Linked DNA regions of Homo sapiens: all the other regions are linked to region 4. The links are contacts of gene promoters, found by promoter capture Hi-C in human tissues and cell types (Jung and others, 2019). All regions are on one chromosome and are shown on one strand. Each heading gives the region's core, a stretch centred on a gene start or on the middle of the fragment in contact. The rest is flanking DNA. Distances are from core to core; before and after follow the strand shown. Region 1 overlaps RAD21L1 (RAD21 cohesin complex component like 1). Region 2 has its middle 31 kb from the start of NSFL1C. Region 3 overlaps PSMF1 (proteasome inhibitor subunit 1). Region 4 holds the start of SNRPB (small nuclear ribonucleoprotein polypeptides B and B1).

Region 1 (2,700 bases), core at 12-2,511, 1.2 Mb before region 4:
TTTTTAAAGTTTTTCATAGAGTCAAGGTCCCACTGTGTTGCTCAGGCTGGTTTCAAACTCCTGGCCTCAGTTTCCTTTTTATTTATGTTTTGTCTTCCTGAAGGGCCAGTGGGTCAGATGTTGGATCTCCTGAACTACTCCTTTAATTTTAATAACATCTTTTATCCTCTATATTAATTTCTTTGTATTTGTGTTTTTCTACCCTCTAGATTTCTTCAACTTTGTCTTCTAGACTTTACTGAATTTTTATATCTGCTTTCACCTTTTTGTTTTCCAGGAGTTTTTTTTCTTGGTTACTAACTATTCTTTTATTTTATAGCATCATAATATTTTTATTTAATTATTCAATTAGGTTTCTAAAGCAGCTTTGTTGAGATATGATTAACATGCAGTAAACTATTTATATTTAAAGTATGCATTATATAAGTCTTGACATATGTGTACAACTGTAAAACCTTCACCACAATCAAGGAGTAAACATATATCAAACCAGAAAAACTTTCCTTGTGCCCCTTTTGAATCCCTCATTTGCATACCTCCAACTGGCACCCCCATTCCCAAGCAACCACTGATCTGCTTCCTCTCACTGTTATCCTAGCCATTTTTCATGGGTACAATGAAAAACTTCTTAACTTCAGAGGTTGCACTTCTGCTCCCTGCATTATCTTTCCTTAGTGATTTTCTTGAATGTATTCCTTTTTGCTCTTTAATATTAGAGATTTTACTCAAATGTCTTGTAGATCCTAGGATTATCTGCTTTTATTTAAGATAGAGACACCAAAAAACTGACTGGAAGTTATATACGCATGAGTAGGGGTTGTAGACTTATGGTCTTTATACTGAGGTAATTGGGTGGCACCTCTCACCTTCCCTAGATTGTATTATATAACTGGGTTTTGTTCTCCCTTAGAATAGTCATCTTTTCCAGAATAATCTTTAAGTCTACTGCCTAGGAGATATAAGCATGATGCCAGTGGCTCAGGAACCAAAAGGAGGTAAAGGAGAGGCTGGTTATCTCACTGTTCAGAGTGTAGAATTTCCCTTAATCCCACTGTTTGTGGTATGACACTTCACCATCCACAGCACTAGTGCCCTAAGTTCAAAGCCTCAATGCTTGTTATCTCCAGAAGGGCAACTTCACGCCTTCTGCTGTGTGAGTAGCGGTCTCCGCTACTGTTCCTAAGTAGATTCTCAAGGAATTCTCCTGTTTTCAGCTTCATCCCTCTCCCCAGTTTATGACACACTGATGTCTCCAATTCCTGAGCTTTTCCTAGGTACTGTGTCTCACTCAAATCAGCTTGCTTTTTGCTGGCTTCCCCCCTGCCAGCACTTAGGGTTCAGTTGTCTCTACTCTACTAAGTCAGTTATGTCTTCCACTTTCTTTGTCTTTATCTCCTTCGTCACTTTTTCTTCCTTTACCTTCATTTCAGAAGGGTTTCTGAAGGGAACACAAATAAACGCTTATGTTTAATCTTGCATATTTGTCCCTTTAGGGTTTTTCAAAATAATTCTTGAAATTGAAAAAACTGTCCTTATTCTCTCCCAGGGGGGAAAAGCCATCCAGTTCTCATCTTTTCTCTCAAGGCAGGGAATAAATGTAGGCTGGATATGCCATCTTTGAAAGGTTACTGAACCTGGGCCACGCCTTTGGTTAAGATAAAGTATGACAAAGTATTTAATTTATTAATTTGTTGACTGTTATGGACAAGCAAAACCTTGTATGTGGTATTTCTAAATAAGCTTCACAACTATCCAGCGTGTATGATTCTCATAGGGACATTGGCCAGTATTCACTGCAGTACTTCTTTTCTTTTTTTCTTTTTTTGTGACAGGGTATCACTGTCACCCAGGCCAGAGTGCAGTGGCATGATCTCGGCTCACTGCAACCTCATCCTCCTGGTTTCAAGCGATTCTTCTGCCTCAGCCTCCCGAATAGCTGGGATTAGAGGCGCGTGCCACCATGCCCAGCTAATTTTTGTATTTTTAGTACAGACAAGGTTTCACCATGTTTGCCAGACTGGTCTCGAACTCTTGACTGCAAGCGATCTGCCCTCCTCGGCCTCCCAAAGTGCTGGGATTACAGGCGTGAGCCACCACGCCTGGCCGCACTGCAGTATTTCTAACTAAAAAATTACACTTCTACTCTAGGACTCTGATTCCAAATCCTAGTCTTCATGAAAAGAGTTATCTTCATCCATAATTAAAATACTTTATTGTACCTCAGTTATTTTCAGTAGGTACACAGATGTCATGTGGTGAATCCGACATCTTTTTAATCTGTGCAAAGAAATTGGGAGTTGTTTACATAGTCATAATCCCCTGACACTGAAACTGGAGTTGTTTATAGTCAACACCAACACTATAGTACCTTTAAGTAGAAGAAGACTGATAGGCTGATCATTTTCATTGTATTTGAAGCCTCCCAAAGTCCTGTGGATTTTTTTGTCTCTGCAAATATAGACTAATTGCCCTTTCCACTGGAGCCATTTATGTTAACATCAATTTTAAAAAGGCCTATCATTTGTATAACACATTATAAATTTATATAACACTTCGGAATTCTTTTGCATGCATGTTCTTCACGAACCAAGCTTGTGTACAGTAACTTGTGTTGTTTTTATGTTTACTAAGGAGTCATTTCCCTTTTTCCATTTAAGGATTTTATAGTCATTTATCCAAAATGTCAATATTTTGTTGTTT
Region 2 (2,700 bases), core at 115-2,614, 1.0 Mb before region 4:
AATGAACTTTCCATAAGCACAACATATGAAAATTGTTCCTCCAGATGAATCTCAGAGGAATTATGCTAAGAGGCCAGTCTCCAAAGGTTAAATGCTGTATGCTTCCATTTACATGATGTTCTGGAAAAGACAAAACCACAATGATGAAGAAGAGATCAGTGGCTGTCAGGGATTGGGTTTGAGGGGTAGTGTGACTATCAAGGCATTGCATGAGGGAGGTTCTGGGATGATGGAATTGTTTTGTGTCCTGATTGTAGTGGTGGTTACATGAATCTATACGTGTGCTGAAATCTGTATAATTATATACAACATAGTTAATTTTACTGTATGATAATTTTAAAAATTAAATGAATTAGAAAATGGTTAACAGTTAATACTCACTCATATGGCCAAATGTATAACAACTCTTATGAGGCAGCAGTCTGGCAGAACTTATTTTCTGGTCACAACCCTGCTGACCAAAACAGGATGTGGTCTACACAAAGTGAAGAAACCGCAGGAACCAGCAGATGGTGAGGAAAGTGATCCCTAGCTGCCCTCATTGCTCATTAGCATATGACACTCCCACAAGCACCATGACAGTTTACAAATGTCATGGTAATTACCTGGAAGTTACCACCCCTTTCCTAGGAAGTTCTAAATAACCTGTCCCTCAGTTTGCATTGGCTTGCCCCTTAATTTGCATGTAATTAAAAATGGGTTTATGTGAGTATACAGTTGCCAGGAGCCCATATGTTGCTGACTGAAGTGCACTGCCTAGGAGTTATCCTTGCTCTACAAAGAGCAGTACTGTTCAACAAAAGATTGCCAATTCCACTGGCTTGTCCTTAAAAGCTAAGGACCCTTCTGGGATAAGCACCAATTTTGGGGCTCACCTATTCTGTATCAGTTATACTGACATACCCATTTTGCAGATGAAGAAAAGGAGGCCCAGAGGGGCTGTTGGGTTGCCCAGGGTCTCAGAGCTAATAAATGGCAGAGCTGAGAACCTGATTTGGGCAGTTTGCCCTCATGGTCATTATTCAAAATCTCTTCATTAACTGACTCAACTGGGGGGCACAAGGCCAAATTTTTCTGAGTTTTCAGGTAGCTGGTGATTGTTTTTGTTTAAGTCTCCTAGGATTTTTTTTTTTTTTTTACAAATTACATGTTTTTGTAATTTGTTACATGCTGTAATAAGAACTTTAAAAAAAGTAGATTTACAACAGCTGAATTTCCTAAAATACAGGGTGCTTGATCATAAGACTCTTCAAGAAAAAGATATTTTAGAACACTAATAAATACAATGCGAAAAAACTGTATTCTTATCTGGGTCCTTCTATCAGTGAAGCCAAAAGAGCTATTACAAGACAACTTAAAACTCATTCCAAAGATGAAGGCAGTTGTCTGTACAATGCAGTGCATCCCAGGCATCTCCAAAAGACAGTAATGAGAATCCAACCCGACAGTGAAGGGAGCCATGCCCATCAGGGAAGTTGGTGCAATTGGAAGGAAGGAAGGAAAGAAGAGGTGATCCAATCAGCATATTTTTTCTTTGAGAACATGAATAACAATATTCATCAATTTCTCATACCCACAAAAATGTTCTAAAAAAAACAGAGAAAGCAAGTTAGAAAATCCGCAACCATAGCAAGCAGTATCCTAAAGAAACATAATTATGTGCTCACATACCTGAAAAATGAACAGGTTATATTATATAGATTTTACCAACTCATCAAAGATTGGCCACATACGATGAAGACTTTGAATACCATCCTGAAGTAGGAATAACTAAAATTTGCATAGATGTTATGATCAGATCATTATGAATAAGATGCTAGTATTCATCATTCCAGGAAACCCTAAGCTGGAAACATTCAACATTCAAGCCTAAGTTGGATATTATTCAACACTTTATGCACAAGTAAATGTTAAGGGAGGCAATATGCAGAGTGATTAAGAGTACAAGCTCCGAAATAAACATACTAAGGTCAAATTTATCGCCAGGCACGGTGGCTCACACCTGTAATCCCGGCACTCTGGGAGGCCGAGGTGGGCGGATCACCTGAGGTCGGGAGTTTGAGACTAGCTTGGGCAACATGGCAAAACCCCATCTCTACTAAAAAATACAAAAATCAGCTGGGTGTGGTGGCACATGCCTGTAATCCCAACTACTCAGGAGGCTGAGGCTGGAGAACTGCCTGAACCTGGGAGATGGAGGTTGCAGTGAGCTGAGATCATGACACTGCACTCCAGCCTGGGTGACAGAATAAGACTCCGTCTCAAAAAAAAAAAAAAAAAAAAAAGAAAAAACTAAGGTAAATTTATCATAAAATTGTGGACTTGCACATGCTGGCTAGGTGGAATAGGCATGTTGCTTAACCTCTCTCACCCTCATATCTAAAATAGAATTAAAAATGGTACCTGTCTTATAGGGCTTGCCTGAGGATTAAATGGGATGATTCATGAGAAATATGTAGTTAATAATGTGGTACAGAAAAATACTCAATAAATAGTATTCATGGGCTGGGCGCGGTTGCTCATGCCTGTAATTTCAGCACTTTGGGGGGCTGAGGCGGGTGGACTACCTGAGGTCAGGACTTTGAGACCAGGCTGGCCAACATGGTGAAACCCCCTCTCTATTAAAAATACAAAAATTAGCTGGGCGTGGTGGTGCGTGCTTGTAATCTTAGCTACTTGGGAGGCTGAGGCAGAAGAATC
Region 3 (2,700 bases), core at 10-2,509, 1.3 Mb before region 4:
AGAAGCATTATTCACAGTAGCCAAAAGGTGAAAGCAGCTTGGCTGTCCATTGATAAGATGAATGGATGAACAAAATTTGGTATGTAAATACAGTAGAATATTATTCGGCTTTAAAAAGGAAGGAAATTCTGGCCCGTGCTACAACATGGATGAACCTTGAAGACATTATACTAAATTAAATAAGCCATTCACAAAAGGACAAATTCTGTGTGATTCTATTAAAAGTACCTAGATTAGTCAAATTTGTAGAGACAGACAGTGGATGGTGGTTGCCAGATACTGGGGCAAGAGGGGAATAGGAAGGGGAGTTAGTGATTAATGGGTACAGAGTTTGTTTTGCAAAATGAAAAGAGATCTGGAGATGGATGGTAGGTGATTGCACAACAGTGTTAATGTACTTAACAGTACTGAACACTTAAAAATGGTTAAGATGGTAAATTTTATGCATATTTTACCACAGTTAAAAGTCTTTAGGGAATACTCATTGCTGTTAGGATAAAGAGCACAATCCTTGATGAGGCCTTAAAGCATTCACCCCTTCAATCTCACCTTGTACTGCCTTCCCCGCATCCCTGTGCTTCAGCCACAGTGTCATTCTTCTGCCCTCTTCAGACCTCTTCCCTCTGTCTAAAGTGCTCTCCCTGACCTCACGTAGCCAACTCCTGTTTATCTTTTGGTTACCGATTTAAACGTCAGTTCCTTAGAGAAGCTTCCTCTGGCCCCCAGGCTTACAGCTTCAAAACATTTTAGTAAAATGTTTTTTTTGGAGTCAGGTTTCCCTCTGTTGCCCAGGCAGGCTGGAGTACAGTGGCACAATCAGCTCACTTATAAACAGGCCAAGCAGCCTCAACCTACTGGGCTCAAGTGACCCTCCCACCTGAGCCTCCCAAATAATTGGGTCTACAGGCATGTGCCACCATGCCCAGCCAGTTTTTTATTTTTTGTAGAGATGAGGTCTTTGCTGTGTTGCCCTGGATCAAAACATCATTTTTTAAGCATTTAATCCATCAGATATTTTACATTTACCTTCTTAGGGTTGGTCTTCCCTCCTTGCCTGTGATCTCCTTGAGGGCAGGGTTTGGGTGTCTTCTGCATGCAATAGACAAAGGGAGGGAAGGGGAAGTGAGCCAGGCCTGGCCGGCAGAATGCTGCGCCTCTGAGGAAAGGGGGAAGTGAGCCAGGCCTGGCCGGCAGAATGCCGCGCCTCTGGGTGTTGCACACTCCCTGACACCCTGGCCCCTCTTAGTGGGTAAGGGAGGGACATTTGGAGTGTGGTCTCTTGACTTCTTCACTCTGGACTTCCACTGGGAGAGAAATTGACAAAACCTGTGGAAGAACCTAGGAATTATACTGGCCATTCATGCTCATTAGAGCATTCCGTCTGTTCAGCAATACTGAAAGAGAATTGTGATCCTGTCTCTATTTGTTTTTTAAGTACATTTGTTTGAGGGGTTTGTGTGTGAGGGAGGGGATATGTGTTGTGTTTTGTTTTGTTTTTTGATTACTGTGAAATGAGGGACACAATAGTACTACCTCAGGGTTTTTCTGAGAATGGAATGAGATGTCAGCACATAGAGTGCTTAGCGCTTAGTCCAGCTCTTAGTAAAATACACAAAGGGGAAAAAAATGTGATCACCAGGAGTCATCTCCGTGGAAATGGGCGGTGAAAGCTGAGGTATGGCTCTGCCTCCTGATCAGAGGCCCTGTCTCCCTCCTATGCCTTTCAGCCATAGCTTCCTCCATGTAGCCCTCTTTATTAGGTCATTGTGGCATGTCTTGCCTCTTCCAGCAATTTGTGCTCCTCAGTGAGCAAACTGTGATTTGCTAAGAAATATAAACCTATTGTGTTCCATTCTGCTGTACCCTTTCTGTGTCGGATGAGATGGTAGGCTGTCTTTTGCCACAACCAAAATGGCAGTTGTTCTTTCAAGGCTTAGAAATTGTGTGAGAACTTCTCCTTCAGGACCTGGTGGTTTTTTAATCAGGCCTGAATTTTACACATGCCTAGGGAGATCAGAGGCCTCCCTCTGATCTGATTAAAAGGAAAGAAGACTTGAATTTACCCTCCCACCCAGCTTGGGCAGGCAAGCAGCTCATTTTTTACCCATGGATGTCCAATGGCCCCAACATCATTTGTTATTCCTTCATTGAATTACTTTTGAAACTTTGTCAAAAATCAGTTGTCTGTACATCTGTGGATCTATCTCTGGATCCCTTGTTCTTTTCCATTGATCTCTATGTCTCTTCCTCTGTCAATATTACTCTATCAGTATTGATTATTGTAGGCCTTAATATTGAGTAGAATAATTCCTCCCACTTTTTCTTCGTCAAGGTAGTTGTAGCTATTCTAGGTTCTGTGCCTTTTCTTTTTTTTCTTTTTTCTTTCTTTTTTTTTTTCTTTGTTTGAGACAGAGTCTCACTGTGTCTCAAAAAGGCTCAGGCTGGAGTGCAGTGGTGTGATCTTGGCTCACTTCAACCTCTGCCTCCGGGGTTCAAGTGATTCTCCTGCCTCAACCTTCTGAGTAGCTGGGACTACAGATGCGTGCCACCATGCCTGGCTAATTTTTTGTATTTTTAGTAGAGACGGGGTTTTACCATGTTAGCCAGGATGGTCTCGATCTCCTGACCTCGTGACCCACCCATCTTAGCCTCCCAAAGTGCTGGGATTACAGACGTGAGCCACCGCACCTGGCCTCTGTG
Region 4 (2,700 bases), core at 67-2,566:
ACTGAGGTCAGGAGTTCGAGACCAGTCTGGCCAACATGGTGAAACCCCGTCTCTACTAAAAATACAAAAAATTAGCCAAGTGTGGTGGCGGGTACCTACAATCCCAGCTACTTGGGAGGCTGAGGCAGGAGAATCGCTTGAACCCGGGAGGTGGAGTTTGCAGTGAACCCTGATCGATCCACCGCACTCCAGCCTGGGCAACAAAAGCAAAACTCCGTCTCAAAAAAATAAAAATAAATTAAATTAAATCCTTCAATGACATGCCTCACCACCACTGAGGTAAAATTAACATGCAAGGCCTTTAGTAACTAGCCTCCTGCCAATTCTTCCCGTCTTCCCTTCTTTCTTCCTTTCTCCTCCAGCAACTTTTTCTCAGTCAACAAACGCAGAAAAATCCAGTAACTTTTTAAATCTTGTTACCCTTCAGCCTTTGTTCCTTCAGTTCTCCGGGTCTGTAATATTCCCCCCATTTTCGCCGGGAACATTCTTGCTAATCTTTTAGGAATCTGCTCAGGAACCATCTATTTGAGAAAACATTCTTACCCCGCCCCGCTGCCGTTACTTTTACCGAATGACCACACTGAATTATATTATGTGTCCCCAGCTACCTCTGTGAAGGAAGCAAACATATTTCAGAGAGTAGCCCCAGCGCCTGAGAAGTCAGGCACAGGCAAACACGGAAACGTGATGAGCAACTGAGTGGAGCTCTTCCTCCATTCGCCATCACCCTCCTCCGCCCTCCTCTCCATCCAGCAGACCTAGCGAGACTCTAGCGTGGTCCACGAGCCCCTTCCACCCACTTCCGCCAACTCTTTCTCAGACTCACAAACTTCCGCAAGTCTGAGCCTTTTACCGGGTCCCCCTGCGGCTCCAGTGCCTGCTCCGAAGCCCGGGACATATATTTATTCGGCAAAAGTTAACTTAGTGCCTACTGGGTCCCAGGAATTATGGCTACAGCGGTGTCGAGAGCCGCGGTTCTACCCTCGCCCCTGCCGAGCGACCTCGGCCTCCGACACCGGTTCCAACCTTTTCCTCGACCCCATGCCTAGCCGAACCGCCAAGGTCCTGGTCTTTCCCGCCCAGACCGAGCGGCCTCGGCCCAGGCCTTCACCGCCCTAAGTGGCTCCAACCCACGGCTTCCTCCCCGATCAGTCGCGGTTCCCACTCCACAACAGACTCGGAAGCTCCCGCGCCGCCAGCCTGTGCCCTCCTTACCATGGTGGCGGTTCTGATGGCTCTGATACCCGCCGGATTCGCCTCCTCAGAGGCCTAGCCTCTCTCCCACAGCCGATTTCCCGCCGCCGCTACCGGAAATGCAGCACCACGTAAAATGCGGTCGGGTAGAAACCTACTTCCGGTCCAGCTCACTAGCCCTGGAGTTCCGGCCCCGGAGCGGAGCTTCTGCCGAGCAGAGGCGGGGCCTGGGGACTGGGCGTTAACATCCGGCTTTGACGTAAGGAGAGCCTTAAGTTCCTGTTTGGACACCTTCCTAGCTTAAATCCGTACTGAGAGCTGCTCTGTGTCACACTCATTTCTCTTCACCCCGCCTTTCCCATTAACCTCTCGGTCCTCATTTCCCATCACCCTCCCCGGCTCTCTCCTCTACAGTCACTATTCTTGCTTTTCCCTCCACTGGCTGGACGTGCTCCTTTTTCAGCCCCTCTGCATTTGCTTTCGCCTCTGCCTGGAATGGTAGTCCCCAAGGTATACCAGAAGGCTGCTGCCCTCACCTCTTTCAAGGTTTAAGCTTAAATAACATTTTCCCAGTGAGGATTTCCCTAGCCATCCTGTAACCTTCCCACCCACCTCATCCTCATCTCTCCTGTATTTCCCTCTTGCTATCTAACACGCTGTATATTTTTGTTAGTTATTTTATTATCCCCTCCCCATTAGAATGTAAGATCCATAAGGGTGTGAATTTTTCTCTTTGTGTATTACTCATTGCTGTAGTGCCTAGAACACTTTAGCACAAAATAAGGGCTCTACCCATATTTGCTGATAATCGCATCCAGTCGTATGACATTTATTTTTTTTCTATGACTTTTTTTTTTCTTTTGAGACAGAGTCTCAGTCTGTCACCAAGGCTGGAGTGCAGTGGCACAATCTCGGCTCACTGCAACCTCTGCCTCCCCGGTTCAAGCGATTCTCCTGCCTCAGCCTCCCGAGTAGCTGGGAATACAGGCCTGTGCCACCACACTCGGCTAATTTTTGTATTTTTAGTAGAGACGGGGTTTTGCCATGTTGGCCAGGCTGGTCTCGAACTCCTGACCTCAACTCCTGGTCTCGAACTCCTGATCCACCCACTTTGGCCTCCCAAAGTGCTGGAATTACAGGCGTGAACCATCACACTGGGCCCTTCCTATGACTTTTAAATACAGCATATACACCCAAGGCTTTCAAGTTTGTTCCTCTAACCTTGGTCTCTTCATTTAACTCTTGGCCCTTTATATCCAGCTGCCAGCGTGATGTGAATGTCTAATAGGTATACCAAATTTAACATGTTGAAAACTGAATTCTTGATTCTATTCACTGTTTCTAAAACCACTTCACCAGTGTTCCCCATCCCCGAAGTTTCTTGGATTAAAAAAGAAAAAAAAGAAAATGACAAATTTGAAGCATATTTCATTCTTCTCTTTCTCTGCCATCGAATAATCAAATTCATCAGCAAATCCTGTGGCCCCCACCTTCAAATTATCTTGA

What was found. Contacts are between HindIII fragments. The study calls those that stand out against the background at their distance.
Region 1: a contact is called between a fragment that was not itself captured here and the fragment with the promoter of SNRPB in region 4, in 1 of the 25 tissues and cell types used here (bladder).
Region 2: a contact is called between a fragment that was not itself captured here and the fragment with the promoter of SNRPB in region 4, in 1 of the 25 tissues and cell types used here (aorta).
Region 3: a contact is called between a fragment that was not itself captured here and the fragment with the promoter of SNRPB in region 4, in 1 of the 25 tissues and cell types used here (spleen).

The regions. Positions count from the first base shown.
Region 1 is chr20:1,251,492-1,254,191 of GRCh38, forward strand. The region is part of intron 13 of RAD21L1 (RAD21 cohesin complex component like 1); the gene reads left to right. Among named protein-coding and RNA genes, the nearest start is that of SNPH, 13 kb to the right of the region's middle. The HindIII fragment of the contact is 4,407 bases long and covers 1-2,700 here.
Region 2 is chr20:1,434,577-1,437,276 of GRCh38, forward strand. No RefSeq gene overlaps it. Among named protein-coding and RNA genes, the nearest start is that of NSFL1C, 31 kb to the right of the region's middle. The HindIII fragment of the contact is 5,217 bases long and covers 1-2,700 here.
Region 3 is chr20:1,129,881-1,132,580 of GRCh38, forward strand. The region is part of intron 3 of PSMF1 (proteasome inhibitor subunit 1); the gene reads left to right. Among named protein-coding and RNA genes, the nearest start is that of PSMF1, 13 kb to the left of the region's middle. The HindIII fragment of the contact is 3,650 bases long and covers 1-2,700 here.
Region 4 is chr20:2,469,473-2,472,172 of GRCh38, forward strand. It overlaps SNRPB (small nuclear ribonucleoprotein polypeptides B and B1), which reads right to left and starts at 1,317. Exons shown (of 7, transcript NM_003091.4): 1 at 1,216-1,317. The coding sequence starts at 1,218. RefSeq lists enhancers at 937-1,056, 1,217-1,266, 1,277-1,326. The HindIII fragment of the contact is 7,557 bases long and covers 1-2,700 here.